Linked DNA regions of Homo sapiens: region 2 is linked to region 1. The links are contacts of gene promoters, found by promoter capture Hi-C in blood cells and fetal thymus (Javierre and others, 2016). All regions are on one chromosome and are shown on one strand. Each heading gives the region's core, a stretch centred on a gene start or on the middle of the fragment in contact. The rest is flanking DNA. Distances are from core to core; before and after follow the strand shown. Region 1 holds the start of GOSR2 (golgi SNAP receptor complex member 2). Region 2 overlaps NSF (N-ethylmaleimide sensitive factor, vesicle fusing ATPase).

The links. The method cuts DNA at HindIII sites, captures the fragments that hold promoters and counts their contacts. A CHiCAGO score of 5 or more calls a contact.
Region 2: a fragment that was not itself captured here is called in contact with the fragment with the promoter of GOSR2 in region 1 in 1 of 17 cell types (naive B cells); the score reaches 5.2 in naive B cells.

What each region holds. Positions count from the first base shown.
Region 1 is chr17:46,921,788-46,926,037 of GRCh38, forward strand. GOSR2 (golgi SNAP receptor complex member 2) reads left to right here and starts at 1,373. Exons shown (of 6, transcript NM_004287.5): 1 at 1,373-1,434. The coding sequence starts at 1,406. It overlaps GOSR2-DT (GOSR2 divergent transcript), which reads right to left and starts at 1,084. Exons shown (of 3, transcript NR_186460.1): 1 at 1,024-1,084. It also overlaps a transcript of LRRC37A2 not described here. RefSeq lists an enhancer at 1,349-2,073. The HindIII fragment of the contact is 7,846 bases long and covers 944-4,250 here.
Region 2 is chr17:46,736,091-46,740,358 of GRCh38, forward strand. The region is part of intron 17 of NSF (N-ethylmaleimide sensitive factor, vesicle fusing ATPase); the gene reads left to right. It also overlaps a transcript of LRRC37A2 not described here. Among named protein-coding and RNA genes, the nearest start is that of WNT3, 80 kb to the right of the region's middle. The HindIII fragment of the contact is 1,398 bases long and covers 897-2,294 here.

The DNA of each region.
Region 1 (4,250 bases), core at 123-2,622:
ATCTCACACCAGTTAGAATGGCGACCATTAAAAAGTCAGGAAACAACAGCTGCTGGAGAGGATGTGGAGAAATAAGAACACTTTTACACTGTTGGTGGGACTGTTAACTGGTTCAACCATTGTGGAAGACAGTGTGGAGATTTCTCAGGGATCTAGAACTAGAAATACCATTTGACCCAGCCATCCCATTACTGGGTATATACCCAAAGGATTATAAATCATGCTGCTATAAAGACACATTTACATGTATGTTTATTGCAGCACTATTCACAATAGCAAAGACCTGGAACCAACCCAAATGTCCAACAATGACAGACTGGATTAAGAAAATGTGGCATATATACACCATGGAATACTATGCAGCCATAAAAAATGATGAGTTCATGTCCTTTGTAGGGACACGGATGAAGCTGGAAACCAACATTCTCAGCAAACTATCGCAAGGACAAAAAAACAAACATTACATGTTCTCACTCATAGGTGGGAACTGAACGATGAGAACACTTGGACACAGGAAGGGGGACATCACACTTCGGGGCCTGTTGTGGGGTGGGGAGAGGGGGAAGGGATAGCATTAGGAGATATACCTAATGTAAATGACGAGTTAATGGGTGCAGCACACCAACATGGCACATGTATACATATGTAACAACCCTGCACGTTGTGCACATGTACCCTAGAACTTAAAGTATAATAATAAAAAATAATAAAATAAAGAAAAAAAATCTATAACTACATTTCTTGTAATTTTGTCTTTTGAGAGTATACATATCTTATTTCCTTTCCCAGACCAGAACCTCTTTGAGGGCAGGAGGAACCCGGTTTTCCCTACTTTACACATGACACATAATAACCACTCATTCAATGTAGGTTTACTGGATGGATAAATAGGAATGGGGGGTAGATAGGCGGGAGAGTGAGTAGACAAATGCGAAACAGGAAAAGCTTGCGCCAGGAAAAACAGTGAAGAGCGAAATCTCCAGACCCCCGATTAAATGGTTTAAAGTGAAGCCAAGCAAGAACCTCCAGTCCTCTCTGCGGCAGAGAACAGCAGATGATAGCGGCTCGCCTTCAACTTTGCTCTGAGGACCTCTCGTTAGTATCCCGCGATTGTCCTTCCTAACGCCTGACTGAATCCTGAGGCTAGCCTTCAGCGAACATGTACACCGCCTTGCCCTTCACGTGAAGCCGAGCCTGTGACTACACTTATCCTTCCGTCGCCGGCCTCATTTCTCCTTCCCCTTCTCCGATCTCGCAACCACTGCTAGTAAGGCGCGCGTGCGGGCAGCCCTGGCCGGCAGGGGAGGGAGGGTCCTGCGACCGGAAGCCGGAAACCGGAAGGGGGGCTGTGAGGACGTGTTCCGAGGAAGCCAGAGCCGGAGCCGTGGCCTGCGGGGCCGGCGACATGGATCCCCTGTTCCAGCAAACGCACAAGTGAGGGCCGGTCGGGGAGCGGGCAGGGGCTAGACGAGGCGAGGCCAGGTGAGCCTGGCTTCTGGGGCTGAGGCCTCGGACGTCAGCCAGGGTAGAGGCCGAGTTTTTCCGCCAGGGCACTGCTGGGGATGCCTCCGAAGTGCTTAATCCTTGGCGGGACTCCCAGGTCAGCCACAGACAGTGGGTTCAGGCTGGGGCCTGGAGACGTGGGGCAGATGACTCCTGGGGTCTGCAAGTTCGTGACTACCTGCTGGGTAGACTGGGTGACGGGAAACTGGCACCTGCAGGTTATAAAACTTTGTCCAGCACTTGTCAACTCGGTGCTCCTGGTTGGTAGACCTCGAGAGGAGACACGGAGTAGGAGACACGGCCCCTGGCCGTAGGAGTGTACTGTTTAATTGGAGAGTCAGGGCACGTACGGGAAAGTATTTGTATTCTTATTCGATTTATACTAAAGACCACATTTTTATGGTACAAAGAAATTGCTGTCCACGTAGCATTCACTATTATTACTTGTTAATCGTATCTGGTTACAGGTTATCGCTAAGAAAATCAAATTGTAATTTAGTTTCTCATAACTTAAATTCCTTGGTAGTGTCCTTTATTCGCATCGTCCTGCACTTTCGGAATTGCTGAGATACGTAGTTGAGTATTAATGGGGCCATACTTACCCTATTTTTGGGGGCGGGGGGCAGAATTATGATTTTTACCCTGTTTTGGAGGGACGGAATTTTATGATTTTTATTTTTTATTGTAAAATATACACAACATAAGATTTACTGTTTTAACAATTTTTAAGTGTACAATTCAGTGACATTGAGTACATTCACAACTTACATCACTACGATCCATTTCCAGAACTTTTTCATCATCCCAGTGTGCCTGTTAATCAGTAGCACTTCATTTCTTCCTTCCAGAACACCTAGTAACCTCTGTTTTACTTCTCTCTATGAGTTTACCTATTCTAGATACTTAATATAAGTGGAGTCATACAGAATTTGTCCTTTTGTATCTGGCTTATTTCACTTAATGTTTTCAGGGTTCATCTATATTGTAGCCTGTTACCAGAATTTCATTCTGTTTTATGACGGAATAATATTCCGTTTTATGTGTCTACCACATTTTGTTATCCATTCATCTGTTGATGGACACTTGAGTTGTTTCCACCATTGGGCTGTTGAGAATAATACTGCTATGAACTCTGGTGTAGAAGTATCTGTTTTAGTTTCTCTTCTCAATTTTTTGAGGTATATACCTATCCTATTGAGAACTTTCAAACTTATGCTGTAGTTTTGTTGATTAAAACACTTAAAATCACACTCCCAAGGCCTGGAAATGAAATGCCCTGAAGCATGAGGAATAAGAGGGTGATGATCCTCTTTCTCTTTCATTTTCTAAGTTTATGGGTTTCTTTTATTTTGGCGATGAGGTGTTTCATTTGGACAGGCGAAAATACAGAACCTACTTTGTAATGACAGAATTTTCTTTTACACTGGGGAGCCCTATTCTCACATAAACGTTATAGGAAGGGACTTAAAACTAGTCTGTGAGTAATTTAGAGAAAGAATGAAACGAAATTATGTTCATGTTACTAAGAAAGGGCCTATCTTTCACAATAGCAGGGCACAATGGGCATAGTAGTGCCTTGAAGTTAATCTGTTATGTATGGTCTTATCTAGTTAATTTAGTTAAAGGATGTTGCCAAGAAGGCCATGACCCATTTTATATTCAAGAATAACTTTATTTAGAGAGTCTTAGACTACCTGTTTTCAGTGCAGCTAATCACAGAGAAAACTGCATGGCTCAGAAGAGGAATTCTAAATGGTACCCCAAACAAGGTGTGTGGAGTGTAGATGCTCTGTAGGCCTCCAACAATGCACCCTTGGACTCTAGCAGCTTGCCAGTTTTTTCTATTAAGGGCCAGATAGTAAATATTTTAGGCTCTGTGGGCTATACGGTCTCTGTAGTTACTACTCTGCTGTTATATTGGGAAAACAGCCATAGACAATATGTAAACTAATTGATGTACCTGTGTTCCAGTACAATTTTATTTATCAAAACAAGCAGTGGGCCAGCTTTGCCCCACAACTATTAGGCCCTCTGCTACCCCGACACTCATTAATTCATTGAATATTTATTGAGCACCTACTATGTGCTGTGCACCATTCTCAGTGCTGGCAGCACAGCCCTGCCCTCGAGGAGTTTACCTTCTTTTATGCTGCAGTATCTTGTCTATCTTTCCTCTCCAGTGCTGAACCAGGAGTGGGAGTTCTGGTTCTAGACCTCCTTACTTTATTTTTCCTCATCTGTAGAATGATATTATAATTTGGGCTGGTTAAACTGTAAGGCTCCTTTCAGTTCCATGATAACAGAACTGATGACTGAATGACTTTCACAAGAAACACGTGGAGTCCAGTGAGCACCAGCAATGAACTTTCGCAACTGCAGAAATTAGTGATTGTAGCTGAGTTGACACAACAGTAGCTGAACTTATTAATTTTACTGGAACTTTGAACCCAGTTTGTGATTATCTCTTGCCGTGTCACTGAATACATTGAGTACATTGGAATTAGATTGACATATTAAAGTTACTTGAAAACTCCTGAACCTACCTGAACAATGAATGAATGAAAATAATGAATGAATGAAAACAATAAACATTTTACACTTAAATGTTTAATTTAGATGAACTTTATAGAGGAGCTAATAGCCAGGCTTCTATTTTTGAGATCCCAATGGTTGTAAAGGTGACCACATTTGTCCCCTATGTAGTCCAAGATCAGTCTCCTGTCCTGGACCTTATCGTATGTCCAGGA
Region 2 (4,268 bases), core at 346-2,845, 190 kb before region 1:
CTTCCCTCATTTGCAGTACTGGGAAAAGAAACCTGCTTCCCCATCTCTCATTCACTGAAATTTAGAAGCTTCCTACATCCTAAGACAAATACTCTTGTCTGGGGATTAGGGATTCCTGTTGTAGAAAGAAGTAGGAAGTGGAGACAGGAATTGCCAAGATCAGTAGGCCACCACCAGGTCACACTTGTCTTCAGCCTCCAGGGACTGGCCCACCTGCTTCCTTTCCCTGCCACCACCTGTTGCTTGTGGCTGAAGTTCCCCTTTTCTCCTAACTCATGGTGCAACAAAGTGGTGCTTCACAGTTTCTTTCCTACCTTTCTGTCCCAGAAACAAGAATGCAGATCTTTGGAGATTTCCTGTGTCCTTGGGGATCTCACAATGGCCAGAAGCCCTGGCCCTCCCTCTACTCCTTACCCTGTTAATCTTGGATGGTAGGATTATAGGTGATTTCTTTTTTATTTTGCTTTATTGTTTCCTGTACTTTATAGATTTTCTACAATAAGCATATGTTACTTTGATAATCAGGAAAAAATAAAAAATGTGTATACAATTATTTTTAACTTAGCAGTATAACTGTCAAAAATTCCTTAATTCCATTGCTTTGGTACTAATTTGCTGCTAACCACTAGGGTTAAATGAGACTACCTTTGTATCTAAGCTTGTCTATGTATAATATATTTTTAACCTTGTTCTTTTTATGACTTAAGATTTAATTGAATATCTGAAATATGCTGTGGGTTTTGGAGTAAAAGTGTGCAAGTGCCTCCTAACTCTCACAGTTGTCCTGGGAAACCCACCTGGCACTTGGCTCAGTGCCATGCTCCCCATCTAAACTTACCATGGTTGAATGCCAGTGTGACTAAAGTTGACCAAGGTAGATGGTAACGATTGTCTTAAGCTTCATTGAAAGGAGATCGGAAGTTTCTTTTTCACCAAAAATATTTCTTTTGACATAGAAGTTTAAAACATTTCTTTAAGGAACATCTGCTTTTATTAGATGTACATTTAAGAAATCCTTCTCAGTATAGAGATAAAAAGATGAATAAGACATTGTACCTGCCCTCAGATGGCTCATAGTCCAAGAACACTGTTCAATTGTGAAGTTTGTGCACAAGGTGGGCACAGGTCAAGTAGCAAATGAAGGTTAACATCCAGCCCACATGCTGCCCACCAAGGAGTCCACCCTGGTTTGGGACTGAATCTGCCCTGAGTAAGGTTACCAGATTTAGCAGATAGGAATATAGGATACTTAGTTAAATTTAAATTTCAGAAAAACATCACATAATTTTTTAGCATCAGCATATCCCATATTTTGGTCAGACTTATACTCAGGTATTTCTCTAGCAACCCTAACGCTGAACAAGAGGAAGAGGGTGCCTTTTAGCTCATACGAGGTGCTGGGGCTTGGGGAAGGAAGCAAGGGTGGCTGCACTCACCCAGATGATTGCTTTTTTCTAATTTGTTCACCTAGGGTGTGTGTGCGTGTGTGTGTGTGTGTGTGTGTGTGTGTGTGTTTTCTGATCCATGCAGAAGCTAACTGGTGTCCCTGTCACAATCCAGGGTGGGAGAAAGATGTGAAAACATGATGCATAGAGTTAGGTTTTATATGTTACGTGGTTCCAGTGGAACATAAAGGAAAGTGTGGTCCATTTTACCTGAGAAGATGTGCAAATCATTCACAAATAGTAGTTTCGGATCCTGGTCTTGAAAGATGAGTAAAAGGGAGATTTAGTCAGGGCCATTGTGCCATGCTAAGGAATTCAAGCGCTGCAGCAATGGAGAGAGAAGGTGAAGGATTTATGTATGCTAAAATTAGCATATTATTATTATTATTATTATTATTATTATTATTATTATTATTAGAGATAGGATCTTGCTGTGTTGCCCAGGGTGGAGTGCAGTGACGCAGTCTCAATCACTGCAGCCTTTACCTCCTGGGCTCAATTGATCCTCCCGCCTCAGCCCCTGGAGTAGCTGGGACAACAGGTGCACACCACCACACCTGACTAATCTTTATATTTTTTGTATAGACAGGGTTTTGCCATGTTACCCAGGCTGGTCTCAAACTCCTGGGCTCAAGCAGTCCACCCACCTCAGCTTCCCAGAGTGCTGGGATTACAGGTGTGAGCCATTACACCCAGCCTAAATTTTTTTAATTAACGTACAATATGATACTTGAGAATTTGAGGATATGTTCTGTGTACTTATCTTAGGCTTCATATGGCATAGTTTCACTGGAGGGAAGAATAGAAATTCATAAGAAATTATAGGCTTCATTTTTTCTAAATGACTGAAGCTTAACCTCTTTAAATATCAATTATTATACTTTAGCCTTTTTTAAGAGGAAAAAAATTGCTACATACATTCTTAGTGTCTGAAGCAAAGTATAATAAACTCTATGTTAATGAATAAGGACCATCATAACAAACCATAATTGATGGGTCAGTATTTTCATGGGTGGGACTCAGCAGGAACTGTTGGAATATACAGGATTCCGTCCTGGTGCCTGTTAGGTAGATACGGTGTGCCCTGTTTGTTGAGTTTTTTGTACCTTTTCTTTTTTTAGTGGTTTTGCTATCAGCTGTTACTTGCAGAATCCAAGTGAGTTGTGTCAGCTGGCCTGCCTCTGATGACTCCTTTTTCCAGTGTGCTGCTTTCATCTGCTATAAATTAAGGCAGGCAACCACCAGGATTCATGAGCTGTTCATACAGTAAGAGAACTAAACTGTGGTTGGGCGCAGTGGCTTACGCCTATAATCCCAGCACTTTGGGAGGCCAAGGCAGGAGGATCACTTGAGTCCAGGACTTCTAGACCAGCCTGGGCAATATGGCAAAACCCCATCTCTACTAAAAATACAAAAAAGTCCAGGCACGGTGGCTCACACCCGTAATCCCAGCACTTTGGGAGGCCAAGGCAGGAGGATCGCTTGAGTCCAGGACTTCTAGACCAGCCTGGGCAATATGGCAAAACCCCATCTCTACTAAAAATACAAAAAAGTCCAGGCACGGTGGCTCACACCCGTAATCCCAGCACTTTGGGAGGCCAAGGTAGGTGGATCATTCAAGGTCAGGAGTTCGAGACCAGCCTGGCCAGTATGGTGAAACCCCCGCCTCTACTAAAAATACAAAAATTAGCCAGGCATGGTGACAGGCGTCTGTAGTCCCAGCTACTCAGGAGGCTGAGGCAGGAGAATCGCTTGAACCCAGGAGGTGGAGGTTGCAGCGAGCCGAGATCGCGCCACTGCACTCCAGCCTGGGCAACAGAGCGAGACTCTGTCTCAAAAAAAAAAAAAAAAAAAAAAGCCAAGCATGGTGGTGCACACCTGTAATTCCAGCTACTCGGGAGGCTGAAGTGGGAGAATCACCTGAGCCCAGGAGGTCGAGGCTGCAGTGAGTGGAGATCATGCAACTGCACTCCAGCCTGGGCAACCAGAGTGAGACCTTGTCTCGAAAAAAACACAAAAACATAAAACTGGGCTGCAGTGAGAGCTGGAGAGGCCTTCCAGAGAGCAAGGCCCCATTTTGACTCCTGTGGGCCCCTTCCTCTACTAAAAAAAAAAATAAATTTTCCACCTGTTGGTACAAAGCTGAATATATTACTATATTAATATTTTCTTCCACCAAAAAGTTCTTTTTTTCTGATTTTTTTTTTTCCAGGAGTGCAGTGGCGCGATCTCAACTCACTGCAACCTCTGCCTCCCGGGTTCAAGCAATTCTCATGCCTCAGCCTCCCAAGTAGCTGGGACTACAGGCGCACACCACCACACCCAGATAATTTTTTGTATTTTTAGCAGAGATGAGGTTTCACCATATTGGCCAGACTGGTCTCAAACTCCTGGCCTCAAGTGATCCGCCCTCCTCAGCCTCCCAAAGTGCTGGGATTACAGGCCTGGCCTGATTTTAAAAGAAATTAGAATAATACTTTCATGGGTTCCTCAAAGTTTCATAGGCCCTGGGCACTGTGTCTAGTGGGTAAGTTGTCCTTGCCTGTCAGTTTTAAAGTTACTTGAACCTCACATTGTTTTTTCAGTACTAGGAGTGAGAGGATTTTTGCTTATTTCTGGTTCTTGGCTGTGCTCTGGATAGTTGAAATTGTTTAGCAGATTGGCCTCCAGATAAGTAAGGCATTATTATTGGATATAGTAAATTCATGTTCTGGAAGTTTGGGGCCTAAAGGAGCAATGTGGGCTCTGTAGGGTTAAATGAGGGCAGGGTATGGTGAGAAGGCAAATTTTGAAACATTGTGAACATAAGAGACAATTGCAAAT